Linked DNA regions of Homo sapiens: region 1 is linked to region 2. Evidence: promoter capture Hi-C in 16 types of primary human blood cells and fetal thymus (Javierre and others, 2016). All regions are on one chromosome and are shown on one strand. The core of a region is centred on a gene start or on the middle of the fragment in contact, and the rest is flanking DNA. Distances in the headings are between cores, read along the strand shown. Region 1 overlaps IFT172 (intraflagellar transport 172). Region 2 holds the start of SUPT7L (SPT7 like, STAGA complex subunit gamma).

Region 1 (3,419 bases), core at 1-2,500, 200 kb before region 2:
TCCAAGCCCCAACCCTGTTCTGGTTTCTATGGCCTCCTTGACAAAAGGAGGTTTTTGAAATTGGCAGAACCAAATTCTGAACAACTGTGGAGAAGATAAAACAGGTACCTTGGCTTCAGCCACAGCGATACACTCATCCCAACGGTGTAGCTCCTGGTACATGCCCATGGCCTCCTCCACAGCATTCTAGGGGAAACAGGCAGAGCAGAGAGGGACACCAGAAAGATATGAGGATCAGAAAGCAGCAAGCTCTCCTCAGCCTGGCTAAGATGCCAGCCCATGAGGACCAAAAGCCTTTTAACTACTATACCAACAGAAATACTGGGAAACTAAAAGAAGCTTAAGCTTCAGGGCTCCTTATTTGCACACACCCTTTCCAAGGCAACTGTTCTTTTTCTTGAGATGGAGTCTCACTCTGTTGCCGAGGCTGAAGTGCAGTTGTGTGATCTCGGGCTCACTGCAACCTCTGCTTCCTTGGCTCAAGCGATTCTCCCACCTCAGCCTCCCGAGTAGCTGGGATTACAGGCGTGTGCCACCACTCCTGGCTAATTTTTTGTATTTTTAGTAGAGATGGGGTTTCACCATGTGGCCAGGCTGGTCTTGAACTCCTGACCTCATGTGATCCACCTGCCTCAGCCTCCCAGCGTGCTGGGATTACTGGTGTGAGCCACCACGCCTGGCCTAAGGCAACTGTTCTTAAAGAGAGCTCCTCAAATTGTATAAGCTTCCGGCCCACAAAACCTGGATCTACCCCTATGCACAAGAATTGCAAAGACAGGCTCTGGACTGGAGGGGAGGTAGTAGACTGCTTATGAAAGAAAGTAGTAATCAAAGGCCAAAGAAGGAAGTTTGTCTAGAAAAGTAAGGACTGACACAAGAGAAGGAAATTAAGAAAAGGGTGAAATTAACTATATAAACCCCTTTGAAAGTTTTCCCCAAACCTTTGGAAGCCTAGTTCACCAGCACGCTTTCCTCCCTTGAGTTTGTACCCCCTTTTCTCTCTTTTTCCCTCATATCCCCTCTTCCATCCTGTCCCTCTTTTCCTATTACCTGTTCCAAAAAGATCATTTCAGCCAGTTTGTAGTTCTTTTCCAGCATGGCTAGACGTGCTCGGACCTGATAAAAGTCTGTTCCTTCTCCGCCCTGTGGGGGAAAAAGGAGGTTCTGATTTTTCTGTAGGTGCTGCCATTCTGTCTGTGAGGGCTGAAATTGGAAGGCCAGAAGGATGTAGAAAACAAAAGACTTGGGAAGGTAAAACACTTCATGGAGCTTAAAGGTTTGAGGTTTAGCAAAAGCAATTCTGAAATGGTCTGACTTGAGGGTAAAGGTGGGGTGGGCAGGGTAAAGGAAACTGGGGATGGCTGGAAAGCTAGGAATCATGGGGCTGAATACTAAGAGAAATCAGCTTGGGAGACAGACAGAATGAATCAGGAGCATAATACTTGCATATTCCCGGGATACTTGATCTGCAATCTCATTGGTCTCATGCAGGAATCGAGCTTTTGCTACTTGGCCCAAAGCAGAAAAGCACCTATGGCATGGAAGCAATAACATTAATAGTAATATTATTATAGAATCATCATTAATTCATTGGTTCAGCAAATACAAATTGATGTACATCTATGATGTGCCAGCCAATGTCTTGTCACTGGAGACATATAGAGACCAAGGAAGATGAGGGCCTTGCTCTCAGAGAACTTCCATTCTGGTGGAGACAAATAATTAGTAAAATTGGAGATAATAAAAAATAAAATAAAGTAATGTAATATTACAGATCAAGCTTGTTCAACCCATGGCCCAAGATGGCTTTGAATGTGGCCCAACACAAATTCATAAACTTTCTTAAAACATTATGAGATTTTTTTGTGATTCTTTTCTCTTTTTTTTTTTTTTTTTTTAAGCTCATCAGCTATCATTAGTGTTAGTATATTTTATGTGTGGCCCAAGATAATTCTTCTTCCGATGTGGCTCAGGGAAGCCAAAGATTGGATACCCCTGTTATAGATAGTGACTGAAGGGGCCACTTAAGTTGGTAGTTGGAGGTCTCTCTGATGAACTGACATTTGAGCTGAGACCTGAATACAAGAAAAAGCCAGTCATGGCAGGATGGGGAAAAGTTATTCCTGGAGAGCGAACAGCTAGTGTTAAGGCTCTATAGCAGGTATGAGCTTGGCACACTCACAGAGCCAAAAGGATGCCAGTGTGGTTGGAGACTAATGGGCAAGCAGGAAGCTGGCATGAGAAGGAAGCAGAGGCCAAAAAACTTCAGGGCTAAGGCCACACAAGGAGTTTGGGTTTTATACTAAGTAAAACAGTAAGCTAATGGAAGGTTCCAGTCATGAAAATGACACAATCTATGTTTAAAAAAATGACCTCAGCTGCTCTGGGATGAATAGATGGTAGGGGTACAAGAAACAGTATCAGTGCGACTAATTAAGAGGCTGTGCAATATTGCAGGTGGGAGACGGCAGTGGTCTGCACAAGGATGGAGACATCAGGATGTGTTTTGAAGACAGAGTCCTTAGGACTTACTGATAATCTACATGTGGGAAGTCTGGAGAAAATGGGATCAAGGATGATTCCTAGCCAAAATGGCAGCAGGTGACATTTATCGAGCACTTTGCACAGATTCTCTCATCACTCCTTCATTACCAATATCCTTACCATCTTCTTTATCATCATATGAGGCAAATACTATTATTAACCCTATTCTACACAGAGAAAATCAAGAAGCCAAGGTTTGGGAAGGTCAAATAACCTCTCTATGGTTATATAAGTTGGTAATTGGAACCAAGATTTGAATTCAAGGAGTCTGGAGTCCCAAGTTTGTCCTGTGAACTGCACTCCTATACCAAACCTGGATTATACACATATGCATAGATTGAAGGGTATGAATAGTAAAAAAATGCTAAAGGGAACCTAGTTACAAGAAGGGGCAGTAAAAATAATAAAAGACATACTCTTGTTTTTTCACTTTTTTTTTTTTTGAGATACGATCTCGCGCATCAGCCAGGCTGGAGTGCAGTTGCATGATCTCAGCTCACCGCAACTTTGCCTCCCGGGTTCAAGTGATTCCTGTGCCTCAGCCTCCTGAATAGCTGGGACCACAGGTGCGCATCACCATGCCCGGCTAATTTTTGTATTTTTAGTAGAGCTGAGGTTTTGCCATGTTGGCCAGGCTGCTCTCAAACTCCTGGCTTCAAGTGATCTGCCCACCTCGCCCTCCCAAAGTGCTAGGATTACAGGCATGAGCCGCCGTGCCCAGCCAAGACATATTTTTTTTTTTTTTGAGACAGAGTCTTGCTCTGTCACCCAGGCTGGAGTACAGTGGTGCAATCTCAGCTCACTGCAACCTCTGCCTCCTGGGTTCAAGCAATTCTCCTGCCTCAGCCTCCTCAGTAGCTGGGATTACAGGCGCC
Region 2 (4,322 bases), core at 626-3,125:
TCCCTATTTCCCATCTCACTCACTAACTCATTACCAGAACTACCATCACGCTCAATCCTGAACAATAAGCAAGGCATGATAAGGTATCTTGATACATCTGTGCTGGATCAATAGGAGAAAAACTAGTAGGGTTAAAGATAATAAGAAGTGGTTCTTACTCTGTGTGTCTTAGGCATGATCCTGGTGGAAAAATTTATGAACCATTAATCTAAATGGCATTATGCTTTCAACTTTTGACATATAGAACGTGAGAGATTTCTGCTGCCTTCTAACTGGTATCCCTTCCTCCAATCTCTCTTTGTATGTCATCTATTCTCTACACTGCTGCTAGACTTACTCTTTTTAAAACTTAAATCAAATGGCTTCCCATTGCCTATTGGAAAAAGTCAGAATTCCTTGGCTTACCATTCAACAAAATTCACAATCTGGTTTCAACTCACCTTTGCAGATTCATTGTCCATATGTCTCTTCAAGTTCAACAAACATTTATCAAATGCCAGGCATTCTGTGTCGGTCAAAGACTGATAATGTGAGATCCTTGCCCTGAAGTGAGGAAGAGAAACAGAAGCAGAATATTTCAATATGAAACATGGTAAGTACTGTTCTAGAGGTATATGGACCTGGGGTACTGGAAGCACAAAGGAGGAGCTTCCTGGGTGAAATGACTACCTTTGTTCTAACAACATTATACTACTCAGTTTCTTGAGAATGCTGTACATTTCCACAATTGACACTTTCAGCTGTGAACTCTGCCAGAAATGCTCTGCCAACCTTGCACATCCCTGGCAGACTCATATTCATTTTTAAGTACAGCATAAGTCCCCACCGTCCGTCACTTCACCAGTGCATCTCCCTTTCTCTATTCTCACAGTGCTTTGCAAGTCTATGTCACAGCAGTTATCCTTGGATTTTAATTAGTACTTATCGCAATAGATTTTTTCTGCCCGTCTATTTCTTATGGCTGTGGTCTTGTTACAGGGCCAGGCACACAGAAATATCTGGCATTTGTTGAATGTTTACTATATGCCAGACTTCACCTTTTTTGTTTGTTTCTTTTTTGAGACAGGGTTTCACTCTGTAGCCCAGGCTGGAGTGCAGTGGTGCAGTCATGGTTCACTGCAGCCTCAACCTCCTGGGACCAAGCAATCCTCCCACCTCAGCCTCTGGAGTAGCTGGGACTACAGGCGCGCACCATCAAACCTGGATTTTTTCTTTTTTTTTTTTTTTTTTGGCGAGACAGGGTCTCGCCATGTTGCCCAGCCTCCTCTGGAACTCCTGGGCTCAAGCAATCCTCCCGCCTCAGCCTCCCAAAATGTTGGGATTACAGGCATGAGCCACCGGTCTGGCTGGCCTTTATTGTTTGATTCAATTCTTCCAACAACCCTATGAGGCTAATAATCTTATCCCCATTTTTCAGAGTGAGGGCTGAGGCCTAGTGTCTTGCCCAATGTCACAAATGGCGAGGTCAAAAATCGACAGTCTCCAGAGTCTGCTCTCTTAACCACTTAACTATTCTGCCTTAATAATTTCAGAAAAAAAATAAATGAATGAACGAAATAACAAAAAAGTCGCCCTCTTCCCTTACTTTACCGAAAGGAGCACGAAGAACAGGCACGGAGCCCAAGGAATGCCCAAGTCCCTCCAGGGGTTTCCTCGGTCACGGTCCGCCGGCGCAGGCGCCAATCACAGGGTCCTGAGGTCGCCTGACGTTCAGGGCAGCCGGAAGACGGGGAGGTCTGGACCTGAACCGAGACAAGGAGGTACCACACTATTCACTGCTGCGTCGCAGAGCGGGCTGGGCGGCTGTCTGGACCTCGAGAGGCCTGAGGCAAGGATCGCGTCAGACCCCGAAAGCTGGTTTGTTGATTAGTGATCTAAGACCGCCGGAAGCGCTTCTTCTCAATCAAGCTATGCAACAGGAAGTCATTACGATCCCGTTGTAACCTCTAAATATGTCCCCGTTCTGCACAGCATCCCGATAACCGTTTTGTTTTTCTCATATTATGACCTTCTCATGTTAGCACCACTTCGCAACGCTCCAGGTCGTGAAGGAGCAACTTCACCATCGCCGCCTACAGACGCCACTGGGAGCTTGGGAGAGTGGGACGTGGACAGGAACGTAAAGACCGAAGGGTGGGTTTCGAAGGAGCGGATTTCGAAGTTGCACCGGTTGAGGATGGCTGACATTCTCTCTCAGTCAGAGACCCTGGCGTCGCAAGACCTCAGTGGGGACTTCAAGAAGCCAGCTCTGCCGGTGTCCCCAGCGGCGCGGAGTAAGGCCCCGGCCAGCAGTTCTTCAAACCCTGAGGAGGTACAGAAGGAAGGGCCCACTGCGTTGCAGGACTCCAATTCTGGGGAGCCCGACATCCCTCCTCCTCAGCCGGACTGCGGTGATTTTAGGAGTCTACAGGAGGAGCAGTCGCGCCCCCCGACAGCGGTTTCTTCCCCTGGCGGTCCAGCCCGGGCTCCCCCCTACCAAGAGCCTCCATGGGGTGGCCCTGCCACAGCCCCCTACAGCTTAGAGACCCTGAAGGGCGGCACTATCCTTGGCACCCGTAGCTTGAAAGGGACGAGTTACTGCCTTTTCGGGAGGCTGTCTGGCTGCGACGTGTGCCTGGAGCACCCTTCGGTGTCTCGGTACCACGCAGTGCTGCAGCACAGGGCGTCCGGCCCTGACGGAGAATGCGACAGCAACGGGCCGGGCTTCTACCTCTACGATCTGGGAAGCACCCATGGCACTTTTCTCAACAAAACTCGCATCCCACCTCGCACCTACTGTCGAGTCCACGTTGGGCATGTTGTTCGCTTTGGAGGCAGCACCCGGCTCTTTATCCTGCAGGTAGGTAGAAAAACCTAGAATTGAAATTTCGGGTTCATTGGACTGCGTTCTTGTGCTTCTTAAGCTTTGGATGAGGAAGAAGAATCTCCCACTCAGCGATTACGAAAGTGAAGGAATCAAGTCTGGCCTATCATCTTCAGACGGCTGTACACATTGCTATATTTCTGAAAGTCATGTTCACAATCCCGAACTCTAAAATAACTTGTTTGGCCAGGCGCGGTGGCTCGCGCCTGTAATCCCAACACTTTGGGAGGCCCAGGCGGGAGGATCGCTTTAGCCCAGGAGTTTGAGAGGAGGCTGGGCAACATGGCAAGACCCTGTCTCTTAAAAAAAAAAAAAAAAATTAGCCAGGCATCATGGTCCCAGCTGCTCAGGAGGCTGAGGTGGGAGGATCACCTGAGCCCAGGAGGTCAAGGCTGCAGTGAGGTGTATTACAGCCACTGCACTCCAGTCCAGCCTAGGCGACAGAGCAAGACCCTGTCTCTAAATAAATAAATAACCTTTTTTTCCTTGGTTCATCAGGGACCAGAGGAAGACCGAGAGGCAGAATCCGAGTTAACAGTAACACAGTTGAAGGAATTGCGCAAGCAGCAGCAAATATTGTTGGAGAAGAAGATGCTAGGAGAAGACTCAGATGAAGAAGAGGAAATGGATACCTCTGAAAGGAAGATAAATGCTGGTAGCCAAGATGATGAGATGGGTTGCACCTGGGGAATGGGTAAGAAATTAAAATTGCTGCCGGAGGTTAATATTTTAAGTTCATTACAAGTGGTACCCTTAAATGTTTTTTTAAATCATACAGCTTTTCATGGCTCCTTGAGATAGATAGGGCAAACACAATTTGCACATGAGGTAACCAAAACCCAGAGAGATTCACTGACTTTACTGTTGTAAAGAAATTGACTTATAGGCACTTTGGATTTTTTAAAAATTTATTTTTAATGCACTCTCTTGTTCAAAACTTGTCCTAAGCATAAAATTATTATTTTTACAATTCTAAAATTTTATATTTATTAAGTACTGACCTTGTGCTATGTGATTATCATTGGAGGGGATGGAACTCTATTCAATCAAATAAATGGGATGTTATTCAATATAGGATATTCTCTTGAATTTTTTGTACTTTGTGAAGATATCCTGAAATGTGGAATATCTAATCAGATAAAGCTGGTCCCTTAGCCAAAATAATAAACTTTCTTTAACACCAGATATTTTAGAAAATGGATATTCAGGAGATGGGAGTATAAAAAGGTAGAAGATGGCATTAATATATAGTTGGGAAGATAGGAAAAATTATGAAATTACTTGTGCTAAGTGCCAAACAAAAGCTAGAAACCATAAGTATGCTAGAGTGAAAGTTTGGAGAAGAGAGAACAGTCACTGGGGACTTAGACCTGTGTTGTCTGATATGGTAGCCACTAGCCACATGTGGTTACTGAGCACTTGCAGTGTGGCTAGTTGCAATTGATGTGTGCTGTAAATG

The links. The method cuts DNA at HindIII sites, captures the fragments that hold promoters and counts their contacts. A CHiCAGO score of 5 or more calls a contact.
Region 1: a contact is called between a fragment that was not itself captured here and the fragment with the promoter of SUPT7L in region 2, in 1 of 17 cell types (endothelial precursors). The highest score is 6.4, in endothelial precursors.

What each region holds. Positions count from the first base shown.
Region 1 is chr2:27,461,651-27,465,069 of GRCh38, forward strand. IFT172 (intraflagellar transport 172) reads right to left here. Exons shown (of 48, transcript NM_015662.3): 19 at 1,447-1,531; 20 at 1,051-1,143; 21 at 109-186. Among named protein-coding and RNA genes, the nearest start is that of KRTCAP3, 21 kb to the left of the region's middle. The HindIII fragment of the contact is 1,056 bases long and covers 723-1,778 here.
Region 2 is chr2:27,661,739-27,666,060 of GRCh38, forward strand. It overlaps SUPT7L (SPT7 like, STAGA complex subunit gamma), which reads right to left and starts at 1,876. Exons shown (of 6, transcript NM_014860.3): 1 at 1,591-1,876; 2 at 441-543. The coding sequence starts at 454. SLC4A1AP (solute carrier family 4 member 1 adaptor protein) reads left to right here and starts at 2,151. Exons shown (of 14, transcript NM_018158.3): 1 at 2,151-2,839; 2 at 3,362-3,557. The coding sequence starts at 2,177. The HindIII fragment of the contact is 6,150 bases long and covers 1-2,901 here.